2 separate regions of the Homo sapiens genome follow, and region 2 is linked to region 1. The links are contacts of gene promoters, found by promoter capture Hi-C in blood cells and fetal thymus (Javierre and others, 2016). All regions are on one chromosome and are shown on one strand. The core of a region is centred on a gene start or on the middle of the fragment in contact, and the rest is flanking DNA. Distances in the headings are between cores, read along the strand shown. Region 1 holds the start of SLC22A23 (solute carrier family 22 member 23). Region 2 has its middle 25 kb from the start of PRP4K.

What was found. The method cuts DNA at HindIII sites, captures the fragments that hold promoters and counts their contacts. A CHiCAGO score of 5 or more calls a contact.
Region 2: a fragment that was not itself captured here is called in contact with the fragment with the promoter of SLC22A23 in region 1 in 1 of 17 cell types (endothelial precursors); the score reaches 5.4 in endothelial precursors.

What each region holds. Positions count from the first base shown.
Region 1 is chr6:3,454,564-3,461,224 of GRCh38, forward strand. SLC22A23 (solute carrier family 22 member 23) reads right to left here and starts at 2,487. Exons shown (of 10, transcript NM_015482.2): 1 at 1,343-2,487. The coding sequence starts at 1,996. LOC643327 (a long non-coding RNA gene) reads left to right here and starts at 1,140. Exons shown (of 2, transcript NR_147844.1): 1 at 1,140-1,688. RefSeq lists silencers at 2,255-2,484, 2,545-2,764. The HindIII fragment of the contact is 25,330 bases long and covers 1-6,661 here.
Region 2 is chr6:3,993,010-3,999,670 of GRCh38, forward strand. No RefSeq gene overlaps it. Among named protein-coding and RNA genes, the nearest start is that of PRP4K, 25 kb to the right of the region's middle. The HindIII fragment of the contact is 643 bases long and covers 3,381-4,023 here.

The DNA of each region.
Region 1 (6,661 bases), core at 1,237-3,736:
GCTAAACCAACAAAGAAATATTGCCCTCCGTGAAGGGAAAACAGTCACAGAAACACCTTTAGAAAGCAGGGGGTAGGAGGTGGGTGGGATCAAGGTGAACCCAGCTAGAAGGACCTTCCCCATTACCTTGCAGGGCAGCAGGGGCAGCTCAGTCAGACAGTTCCCACAGGACAGAGCATTTCTGGCCAGGTTGGTACAAGATTAAAACAATGATTATGATGATGTAAGAGTTTATCTTACACATCCATGAGCTACAACTGTTAACCAATGCACACGGGGGGAGGAGGTTACATGCACATTGACTATTTAAAACTGTCCAATTTCATACATTTCGACAAAGCATTTAAAACTCTGCCAGAACAGCCCAGAATGGGTAGCGGGTGGGGTGGAGGAGAGTCTGTATTTACTTTAAAATGTGAATTAATTAGTTTAGACACAAGGAGCAAAACTACAAATGTCTTGATATCTCTTATATGTTAAGAATAAAATTACAGCTGTCTAGGGGCATTGAGTGTCCACCATTGCCCACTCTGTGTTTAGGCCTTCACACTTGTCTCACAACTCCCTTCTGCTACATTTCACACCACGCAATACCTCTGCAAGGGAGCTTTAGCTACAGGACTCAGAGGACAAGGTGCATGTTTCAGCTAAAGCACACCCCCGTTCTCAGTGCCTCAGCCCAAAGCAGCTGCTGTGTAAGAGCGGTGACGGCCGGGGAACACCCAAATGACATATTCTCCGCGTCCTTCCTATACTGTAGTGATGTTTACTGAAGTGCTGAGAAAACATGGGAGGAGACACTGGGGTAGCAAAGCCTAAAGTCAGATATCTTTGGGGAGGACTAAGCATCGGCTGCGGGTTGGGGATTTGCAGGAGTCTTTGCTTCTCTGGCTCTCCAGTTCTTTAGTAGGCTTTACCTGTGTCAAAATCAAGTGCGAGATGGAAGACTATTGCTTTGTGGGAGACCCAGGGACAACTAGCCGGGCAGAACAGGGCTGTGGTCCCGACTCCCCCAGCAGACCTTGAACGACGCCAGTCCGACTCCTCCAGAGGGGGCTGGTGACAGGTCAGCTGCCTCGCCCCGAGGGTGGGGGAAGGGCGCGCTTTCCATCCGCGTACTGGGACAGGAGTTTGGGTGCAAACTAGTAAAGGCTATGGTGCTCCCTTTACACCCAAGTAAAGGCATGTGGTTTGGGGGACGGAAGGAGATTAAGCCAATGCGGAATGCCCTACACACACTCTAGCACCACCACTTTGGGGACTTCGGTTCTCCCGCTGGCTCGGGCTTGGACCTCGGTCTGCAGGGAGAGGGTTGGAGGGACTGGGCGGCTGCGGCCCTTACCTTGCTGACCACGTTCTGGACGAGGCCGGCGCGGATGCCGTAGTCCCATGCGCGGCAGTCACAGTTGGAGGCGTTGTCCCCCTTGTCCGGAGGGGATGGCAGGGGTGGTGTGTCGCCTCCGTCCGCGCCGCTGCTGTTGCTCCGGTTGCCCGCAGCCTCCCAGGGGGCAGTGGCGAAGGGGGTGGTGGGGAGGCTGGTCCAGTTGCCCATGTCCCCGCCCCGGCCTGTGGTGGTGACCCCTGCCAGCTCGGTGCCTTTGCCGGCCCCGCGGCACCAGAAGTTGGGCTGGTCCAGGAGGAACGAGTCCGAGAACTGGCTGAAGCCGATGAACAGCGCCGGGATCCAGGTGAGCAGCACGAGGGTCTTCTGATAGCCCCCGCCCAGGCCCCCGAGGAAGGGCAGCACCGACCCGTCATAGTCCAGCAACAAGAGGCTCGGGGCCGCAGCCGCGGAGCAGCAGCTCGGGTGCGGGCCGCCTCCAGGATGCAGTGGGGGCAGCGGCTGGATCTCCGCGCCGCCGCCGGGGCCCGCGCGTCCCCCGAGGGGCGCCGAGGCCGCCGCGTCCCCGGGCGGCAGGGAGCCGTTCTCCTCGGCCGGGGCCGGCTGCCGCCCAGGCCCGCCGCCCGCCGCCTCGCGCCGCCGGTCTATGGCCATGGCCCGGGCCCGCGGCTCCCGCAGAGGCGCATAGAGCGCGGCGGAGGCTCCGCGGGCGCCCCGGGCACAGCGCGCCGGGCCAGGCGCCTGCAGCCGCTGCCGCCGAGGAGGGCCCGCGGCTCGAGAGAGAGCGCTCGGCGGCTCCGGGTGCGTCAGGCCGCCCCCATGTCACCCGCCGGACCCCGCGCCCCGGGCGCTGCGGCCCCGCTCGGGCGCCGGGCAGAGGCGGGCAGAGGCCGGCCGGGCCCTCAGCCGCCGCGGCTCATCAGTTCCGCGGCCCGGGCGCCGGCTGCCGAGCCCGCCGCTCTCCGCTGCTCCGCGCCGGACGCGGCAGGAGGAGGAGCCGGCGCCGCGCCCGGCCCGCGCCCTTGCCGGCGGTTCAGGGCCCTGCGGGCGGCGGTGCGGGCAAAGGCTGCTGCTCCCGGGGTGGCCGCGCTGTATTTCTCCGACTTCGGGCGCCTCCCGGAAGCCGCGAGCTCTGGACCCAGCCTGCCGAGCCGGCCGCGCTCTCCAGCTCCTGGAGCCGGCCCCACTCCTCCTCCTCCTCCTCCTCCTCCCCCTCCTCCCTGCCCCCCGGCCCGCCCCCTCTCCCCCCGCCGAGGTGGAGGTAACCGCGGCACCTGCTGCGCTCGGCTCCTGCTCGCGAGCGCCCCCTCCAGCCCGGACGCGCGGCCGCCGCCGCCCGGGATCCACGGGAGGGGGGCGGGGGAAACGGGACACCCCGGGCCCGCCTGGCTGGAGGATCCCCTGCCCGTTGCCCGTTTCGCGCCGGGCGGGGCGGGGGAGGAGGAGACGCGCGTAGCAGGGGTCGCCGGCCGGCGACGGGTCCCGGCAAAGTCGGCGTGCGCTGAGAACGTGTGGGCCGGGTCTTCTCTGAGGCTGGGCTCCCGCAGCCGCGCGGGCCCCCCACCCACTCCGCGCGCGCCAGGTCTCCGTGACCTCTGTCTCTTCAGAGGTGCCCGGCGGTCCCGCTGCCCGCGCCCCGCTCCCAGTCCCAAGCCCGAGGGTCTTCAGCCTTCGGGAACAACCCTCTGCGCTTTTTCCAGGAGCGAATAAGGTTGATTTTTGTGTCCGTGGAGCAGGGTCAAGGAGGCGCCTTTGCCAATTTCAGGTCGCCAGTCCCCCGCAGTGTCTGGCCACCTGCGACCCGCCGCACCCACTCCCAAATCGCCATTTCTTCCCCCACTCCTAAGTGCATGCGATGTAAGCACGATGCTGGGATATATCTCCAACACAAGTTATAATACACACAGTATAAACGTGATGGCATTCCCCACCCCCTCCCTAAGATCTTGTATTCACGTTTGGAACGCCGTGTGCACAGGCGCACACATCTATACTCTCACACAAGAAGACAAACCTCTCCCTCCTCTCCTGCTCCAGCGCCAACCTTGCCCAGCCAGCGCTGTATAAATAACACCAGCCCTGCGGCAAACGGCTACATTAGCATATTTCCTCCTGCACCCAGCGCACGCACCAAAGAGAATTATCCGGCACCTTTCAACCCAGCGTCCCCACATTTTGGAGGCATTTCATATTCTGAGAAGTTTATTAATGGAAGTCTTAAATGGAGCAATCCATTTCTAGTCTTATTTGGGGCAAAAAAAAAAAAAATGTTTAGCTTTCCAAAAGGATATATTCTAAGCTCCATATACTGAATGTATTCTTTTGCATTTTCATTATTTGCTCAGCTAACCGCTGCACAATTTAGTGGAATACATTTTTAACCTGCAGTTCAGTGTTAAGGGCAACATGTGTTTACTGCATAAAATGCTGGCACATACGTACCAGAGAACTATTTCTGAAGGCTGCCGGGGGGCGGGTCTTGGGGGACAGGGGAGGTTGTGGACCTTCCTGCGTGGCCGAGAAGGGGTGATTAGATAACAATGGGCGGAAGGGGCCCTAAGGGCTGCAAAAGACACCAGACCGCTGAGAAATGGGTCTGGAAACCACATATATAAAGAGCTGGGGGCTTGGGGCGGGGGGGGACACGATAGTGCACGTTGTGTACGTGGTAATTTTTCAACTTCACATTATTTATTAGCTTAACTTTTCTTTTCCTTCCCTCTCCTCCCCTCATTTGAAGAGCTAATACATGCAAAGTTCTGACCTCCATGCCTGGAACAGAGTAAGTGCGCAATGAATGTTAGACATGTATTATTACCAGTGCTCCTCTTGCCATTACATACAATCCACATTTCTTTTTGAATTGAAATATAACTTTACGGATTTTATTTATTTTCCTTTCAGTGGCTGATTTTCCAGAAGAGGTCCACTTTGTGTCTGGCTCTGCCTCCCTTCCCCCACAGTCACAAGGACCCATTTGTTTTCTTGTAACTGATCACAAAAGGAGCATTGCCATTGACCTTAATGGCCCTTCCAATCAGAATAACTATCATAGCCAGCGTTTCAGAGTTGGCTTTCAAATTCACACTCTCACTCAGTCCTCACATTCAGCGCCCCAAGAAGTGGGCTTTCAAAGAGAAACAGCAAGGATCAGGTGACTGACTACCAGATCAAAGAGTTGGTCCCCAGCTGAGCCAAATATCTGGTTTTGAACCCAGATTTTCTGACTGGACATTACCGGATTTCTCCATTTCATCATACAGGGGCAACTATAGGGAAGAGTTTACAAAGATGTTTGTTAATGTGCATTTTTACGTGGGAGAAGCCCTGGCCCTAGGAAAAGAGTTTCATTGTGAAGATGTTATTAGTCTTTGTTCGCAAAAGGTGGTAAAAATCCTCAAATGGTACATTCTTAGAATTTAGGGACACACTGGAAAATGGTATCCTCTAAAACTGAAGCTAAAAGGAGGCAACATAAAATGTTTGAAATTAACTAGCTGCAGCACTGACCCAGGCATTGTAATTAAGCTGTTGATTAGATTAGAGGTTTCCCTAAATTCCTCCTGGATTGATATTTCCACCAAATCTAGTCAAGAAGATTAAAGTGTAACTACTTTAAAATAAAGTGGCCTTCAATTTATTAAAACATACCACAAGTGATCTCATAACGTGAGCAAAAGGAGTAAAGAGGAAGAATTTGACACTCTGACAGCCTCAGTGGGTGAGGTTTGAGATCCATGGACCAGGATAGGAAAGCCAGACACCTGTTAAAAAATTACTGTTTTTAATTTTCTGAATGAGCATTATCATCAGCTGCTATTTTTCTTGTTTGCTTAGTTAGATTTACGTTCTGCCTCTAGAATGTAAGCACCTTCGGGGATAGGTGCCTTGTGCTCAGCTGTATGCTTGGTGGTTAAAACAGTGCCTGGTACATGCAAGGCACTCAATACATCTTTGTCAAATAAATGAGTGTATCAAGTTATTAATCACTTGATGATACTGTCTATTCAAATCATCAAACTGTTTACTTTGTTTCTTAAATCATCAAGCAACCTTTTTGTGTTTGTTCATCTCTCAAAGATGGTGCTCAGATCAGCCAACATGAGACTTGAAATGAATTTGACAATTATATGTCTTGTTGTAAGGCATTGTGGTTACTGGATTAGCTCCCAATATTATCTTCTCTTGGGCAGTATTGGCTTGCAGATGGTGGCTTATAGGCCAAATGCAGCTCACAGACCATAGGCAATGTTTTCAGGAAAATAATTGCTAACATTTCAAAATTGGGAGATTGAATACTTAGAAAAAAATGTGTTTTGGGCTTCTCTGAACATCATAGCAGAAGCCATTGTCCTTTTGATGCCCCATGTTTGCAGGACCGTGCTTTCTTGGACTGCAGTAAATGAGCAGGCACTCTCCAGCTTGCCCTCATCCCTGCCTGACACATGCCCCTCATGCATGACATTTGGCCCCCAAAAGTAGCTGTGTTTGTGACCCTAAATTTATGTGAGTATCCTGAACCCAGTGATCTTAATAAAGAAGCTGAGTCATTCCCTTTTCCTTTGAAAGTATGTTAAAGAATCTACCAGTTTATAGTTTTCTAAAAATTGAGAAAATAAGGAAAGGAAATGAAAGTCATAACCTAATCACCAATACATTTGAACAGTTTTATTTCCTTGGAGATAACAGGAGAAAAAATGTTTTAGCTTACCTCTAAAATTGATGGAAACCTAATTTTAAATCCTCTATAATTCTGTAAAAGTTAATTCTAAGGAATTCAAGTCAGGGTTAATTAACTTTAAATGTACGCTGCAAGTCATACCAAATGTATTTCACGTTGGTTTCTCTGATTATTCATGGTCTTTATACTTGAATTATAGATAGATATATCACATTTTAGAATATCCTGTGTCATTTTTTTTTTAAACTGCAGCTTGATTTCTTCCTTTCAAATAACTATTTGAAAATTAGGTTACCTTGATTTTGGGAGGGTGGGAGAAAGTGATTGAAATTATTTCCAACTCTAGTTGTGTATACTTGAATATTATTTATATCATCCTTTGCCTTTTGGAATATCAAGTCTGACTCTTTAACAAGAAATTTGACATTTACAAAACCTATCATAAATGAAAATGAAAAAGCTACTTTGGTTAAGTGACAGAAGTAATAAAAATGTCACATAATCTATCCTAAGGAAAGTTACAGGTAGTATCTTGAGAAAAACTACCTACTCATCTAGTACAAGACAAATTCATCAAAAGGCCAAGTGAAAACAGAAAAAGTGAAGATAAGACTTCTATGCAAAAAGCTACTCCATTG
Region 2 (6,661 bases), core at 2,452-4,951, 540 kb after region 1:
TTGCCTTTGAGTGCACATGCTTGAGCCCACTCACCCAACTCCTGAGATCATATTGGGAAGCTGCTAGTCACCAGTTTCAGGTGTTTTCTATCTGTTGGGAGACTGCCTTTCCCTAGCACTGGCTGCAACCAATTATTATTTTAAAGAGACAGTTAACAACCACCTGACCATCACCTGATGGTTGCCTAACATTCCTGGTGGTGGAAGGACCCTCTTCTGCCCTGCTCACGTCTAACTACCTGCTCTAATACTCCCACCTCAACCTCCCAAGTTACTGAGACTATAGGTGTGAGCCACCGTGCCAGGCCTGAGCTGTTATCTTTTATAATAAAATGAGAATAATCAGTGCTTCAGGGCTTTGCTGAGTTCTGTGAGGCATTCTAGCAAATTATAGAAACTGAGGGGAAGGGGCCATGGGAACCCCCAAATTTGTAGTCACCTGGGCAGAAATGTGGATCACCTGGGCACCCCATTTACAGCTGACATCTGAAGTAGGGAAGTATTGTGGGACTGAGCCTTTAACTTGTAGGGGTGGATGCTAACGCAGGCAGACAGTATCAGAATTTAATTGAATTATTGGACATCCGGTTGATGTCTAGAGAACTGGAGAAATGGCTGGTGTTAGAACGGACATCACACATTTGGTGTCAGGAGGAAAACACCCTCGGGAGGATTAAGAGGAAGGAAAGGCTTTGACAAGCAGAGGAGGCTCAAGGCATTGAGTTCAGAGTACTCCATGGAGTCAAGGAGGTCTCCGAATCCTCTGGAGTGTCCCCATCCTAATTCACAAAGTCTTGGTTTTTCCTGATTAGGACTTGCACTTACACGACCTGGTGACTAACCAACAGAGTAACTGAATAACCCTACAGATCAATTTTTGAGTTTGGTTTTCAGTTACTTCAGCCTTAGGGTTTTCTGGTATTCTTGGTTTTATTTTTAGAAATAAAAAAAAACAACATAGACTTGAAGGACTTCAATAGCACATAAGAAAAATAAGTTGAATCAAAAGGATGAGAAAGGATTGAAAAAGACTAGAACAATCTTTATCAGAGAATTATTAACCATGTTAAGGGCCAGGCGCGGTGGCTCACGCCTGTGATCCTAGCACTTTGGGAGGCTGAGACAGGCGGGTCACCTGAGGTCAGGAGTTCAAGACCAGACTGGCCAACATGGTGAAACCTCATCTCTACTAAAAATACAAAAATTAGCCAGGTGTAGTGGCAGGCGCCTGTAATCCCAGCTACTTGGGAGGCTGAGGCAGGAGAACCACTTGAGCCCAGGAGGCAGAGGTTGCAGTGAGCCAAGACTGTACCACTGCACTCCAGCCTGGGCAATAAGAGCAAAATTCCATGTCAAAAAAAAAAAAAAAGAGAGAGAGACAGAATTATTAACCATTTTAACAGAAAATCAGAATCTGTAGACATGATATTAGAAATAGTAAGAGGGTTTAACAAGGTGGACAGGTATAAGGTCGTTATACAAAAGTCAACTGCACTTCTTTATACCAGAAGGGAGTCCAGATATAGACTCAAATATACAGGGCATATAAGTGTATGATAAAGGTGTCATCTCAAATTATGGGAAAAAGATTATTCAGTAAAGGTGTTGGGACCTTTGGGGAAAAAAATATACATCTGAATCATACATAAATTGCTGTCAGATATACCAAAGACTTAAAAAGAAATGAAATATAAAAGTATTATAAGAAAGAAAATTGTATCACATGGGGCTAGGGAAGGGCTTTATAATCATGGCGGAAAACCTAGACACCATATGGAATGATTAACAATTTAAAACTTCATTATAACATAACAAACAAAATCAAAGCAAAAACCCTCCACAAAGTTAAGAGATAAAAGACAATCCAAGAGGTGGGGGATTATCATAGTTTGTGATGTGCCTTTTATTGTGATTGAGCTCTGTTTGAATGCCACTTCTAAAACTGTGGAGCGGGCACAGTGGCTCGTGGCTGTAATCCCAGCACTTTGGGAGGCTGAGGCGGGCAGATCACTTGAGCTCAGGAATTCAAGACCAGGCCTGGGCAACATGGTGAAACCCTGCCTCTACAAAAAATTAGCTGGGTATGGTGGCAGGCACCTACAGTCCCATCCACTCAGGAGGCTGAGGCACTAGAATTGCTTGAACCTAGGAGGCGGAGTTTGCACTGAGCTGGGATCGTGCCACTGCACTCCAGCCTGGGTGATAGAGACATACCCTGTCTCAAAATAAAAATAAAAATAAACTAACTGTAAATTTGGGCAAATTCCTTAACCTCTCTGAACCCATTTTCCTTGTGTGAACATGAAAATAACACATTCCCCAAAATTAATGTGAGGATTAAATGGAATAATGTATGTAAAGTATTTAGCACAGAGCCTAGCATGCAGTAAGCATTCAATAAATGTAGGGGAGAAGACGTGCAATATTTGACAAAAACATTTATTATCAATTTATTTAAAATGCATGCTTTAAAAAGAGTAAAATATGTGAACAGTCAGCTTGAATAAGTAGAAATAATGGTGATTAATAATCACATTAAAAAGTGTGTAACTGGCTAGGCATGGTGGCTCACGCCTGCAATCCCAGCACTTTGGGAGGCTGAGTGGGGGGATCACCTGAGGTCAGGAATTCCAAACCAGCTGGTCCAACACGGTGAAACCCCATCTCTACTGAAAATACAAAACTCAGCCAGGCGTGGTGGCAGGCGCCTGTAATCCCAGCTACTCGGGAGGCTGAGGCACGAGAATCACCTGAACCTGAGAGGTAGAGGTTGCAGTGAGCTGAGATTGTGCCACTGCACTCCAGCCTGGATGACAGAGTAAGACTCTGTCTCAAAAAACAAACAAACAAAAGTGCATAACTTCTCAAATAGAAATTTAAAATAAAAGAACAAGATATATGACTGTATTTCTTAGGCAGTAATTTAAAATAAAAAAAAATTGATAATGCCTGAGCTAGTAAGAATGTAGTGAATCACTCTCTTACATTTTACTAAGAGTATCCATCGGTACACGTTTTAAGGTAATTTGTTGGTACTTATTAAAATGTAAATGTTCACAATTGCTTGCCCTCACAGTTTAATTTCTAAGAATTTTTCCTACTGAAATACTGATTTAAGGAAGCAAAATACATAGTATTTGCAAGGATGGCTAAAGAAAAAAACAAAACTACAAAAAATAAAGCATATCTACAAATGCTATTATGAAGATTCAAAATATATACCAGAACAAGTTGTATGTATGTATAGTATGAGCCTTTTATTGTAAAAAACAATAGTAACTATGACATATATGTTAATGTGTTCATAGAAAAATAATCTATGTCTAGAGGTTAAGATTACGGTTGTTTCACTTTTAGTATATTTTTATGTTTAAGCTAGAAGCTTCTATAAATGAATAGTAATTATATATTAGTAGTAATTTACAATTGAAACACTTTAGAGGGATACCAAAGTATGAGAGGTGGTTTTCTCAGGAAGAAGAGAAATGGCGTCTGATGTTCCAGCAGAATGGAGACAGACACCAGGCTGTCAAAATCATCACTTGACAAGCTGTCTGCACAGCAATAGTTAACACGCAAATTAAACTTTTCATATACTGGATTCATAGAGAAATGTGGTGTAAATTTACCGTTACTTTAACTTAAGAAAAAAGCTGCACTACTTTTTCATAATTTAGGCCTTCCTTAACCCTGAGAAGGAGGTCCCTCTCTTACTCCCTCTTCTTACTTGAAATGGACTCATGAGTGTAAATTCAAGCATGTCTGTGCAAATGCTCTGCAATGTTCAGAGAAGAAAACTGCTAGATCATGGGCATCTTTAACCTAGGTTTGTGTGGAGCAGCAATGAGCATGCAAGCTGTTCCAAGGAAAAGTTAATTTTACTGCTTCATGTCAGTAAAAGTTCATATGTTTTATTTTACTATTCCAACATGAAACTTTATATTTAAAAACCTGAAAACTATTTTTAAGTACAGCAGTCTTTCTGCATATAGTATTACTCACATGTGTGCAAATTCTGCTCAAAGCTTCGATTTAGTTGTTCCCAAAACAGTCTCTCCCTTCATATACTGTACCTCTAAATTAATCCTACATTGAGTTTAGACTATTAACATAACGTAGGCCAATCCCTGTTTAACTTGCCAATCCAAGTCTTTCATTCCTAATCTTAAAAGTGCTTCATTTTTAAAAAGCACTGAAGGAAGTAAATGCATGGAAATGGAACTTGCCTAGCAGTTTCATGTGTAGGCAGATACAAAAGACATCTGTGTAGTAGTAATCCAGGAATCAGATTACTCTACTGGCTCGTTTTTTCAAGGATGGTAGAAGGAATGGGCGTAACCATGGAAATGTTCCTTCCCAAAACACAAATCTTAAACAAAACCCAAAAGCCTAGAAACATCAAAAAACCCAGGAACTCTAGCTTCCAACAGAGAACTCAACATCACCATGACACAGAGTAGCTAAAAAGAGATCCTTCCAAAAAAGAAAGTGCTACAAAAACACAGCCTTTCGAAATTTTATCCCAGGCAAGATGCCTTTTATTCTGTAAAATAAAACACTTGTCAGCAATAACAGAAATGAAATGTGTGTCTAAAATCTTCTTTAGAAGGACTATTATTCAGTAGCTCAATTCAGTCACTTTAGATAATTGTGGTGTGGCATTTAAATCCTAAATTAAAGCTCTTCCTCTACTAGTTGACATGGAAGTAATTCTGTGGGGGCTCTTGGTCTAAACTTAGCTGGAAACAACTAAAATTTGGATAAATTCATATAAAAACAACAGTCTCCTTTGCCAAAGAAGCTGGAATATGGACTGACAATATTGAAATAAATTAAACAAATGTTTATCATATACTATCATGTGCTAAGCACTTTCAACTGCTAGGCAAACAGCTGCCAACAAAAATAGATGAGAACTCTGTAATTTTATAGAACTTGTGAAAATAAGTAATTCAAAATCAAAGCTATTGGAACGTTATTTTGAGCCTTAAAGGAATGTGATTATACGACCTGAGTCACTAACAGGCAGCTGTAACCTTTATTTCCCTAATTACGGATTAGCCTTGAATAAACTCAGGTGAGCCACTGTACCTGGCTTTGAGAATTTCAATAAAAGAAAAGGAGGTGTGCCTGAAACTTCAAGACTAAAAGAGATAAATTAAGGAGGGCCAATCATGGAGAGGTTTATAGGCCACAGTAAGGAGCTGGATTTTTTTTTATGAGTAATGAGAAAACATTAATGGATTTTTGCTCTGACAAATTAAAGCTGGATATTCCTCATCTACTGGTTGAAATAGGGGTAATCCTGTAGGGACATGGATCCCTCTTGGTCTAAACTTAACCAGAAACAACTAAAATTTGGACAAATTCATAAAAAGACAACAATCTCTTTTTCCAAAGACTCCAGAGTATGAACTGACAACACTGAAATGTTTTGGGAGAAAAGGAATAGAAGCAGAGAGAATGGATTGGAAATGACAATAAGGAGGCTTTCAAACAGCCAAGCATTCACCTTCCTAACATCACTGAAGGATCAGGCATGGGCTGGCCTCAGTACTTAATCGTTATTTTGAACTGTGGTGGCAACAGATCTCACCAGCTGAGAATTAAAGAAAAATTCTACTCCTAGGGCCAAAAGGAGACAACTTGGAAAGTTAGAAGTTAGAAGAAGTTCACAGCCATTTCATAAATGCTCAAAAAAAAAAAAAAAAAAAAACCCAAAACCAAAAAAAAAAAAAAAAGAAAAAAAAAAGAACACATTCTAAAGGTTTGGGTAAAAAATTTGCAAGAATTACTTGCTCTTTTCGCTGGGTGTGGTGGCTCACGCCTGTGATCCCAGCAATTTGGGAGGCCAAGGCAGGTGAATCACTTGAGCTCAGGAGTTCAAGACTAGCCTGGCCAACATGGCGAAAACCCATCTCTACTAAAAATACAAAAATTAGCCAGGTGTGGTGTTGCGCGACTGTAATCCCAGCACTTTGGGGGACCCAAGTGGGTGGATCACTTGTGCTCAGGAGTTCAAGACCAGCCTGGCCAACATGGCGAAACCCCATCTCTACTAAAAATACAAAAATCAGCCAGGCTTGGTAGCGTGTGCCTGTAATTTCAGCTACCTGGGAGGCTGAGGCAAAGAACTGCTTGAACTCGTAAGGCGGAAGTTGCAGTTAGCCAAGATCGCACCACTGCACTCCAGCTTGGGGGACAGAGAGAGACCCTAACTCAATTAAAAAAAGAAATTTTGTTTTGTTTTAATGAACCTTACAACAAAGCTGTTTATTTAAAAAAAATAAAAGCTGGTAACTAGTATGAGGTCAAATGCAGAAAGCCAGATTATAAAAAATTACCCATATAATGTGGAATATTAAAAATGGAAATATGAAAAAAATCTGAAAAATTATATGGGTGTGTTAGAAATGGATTAGTGAAGAAAGAACATGAAGAAATATAAAAGAACAGTATGGGAGGATGGTGAAGTCTAAAATACTATTGTCTTAAAGGAAAAAGTTTTTCATATTCAAAAGAGGAATGGATTGAATGTCTCAATTTAAAGTGACATCAAGCAATTCCAAATAAATGCCATGGTTTCTGGTCTATAGAGAAGGAAAAGTCTACATTCAAGTATGCTTGGTGTATAAATTAAGATTTTCATATGTCAAACCAC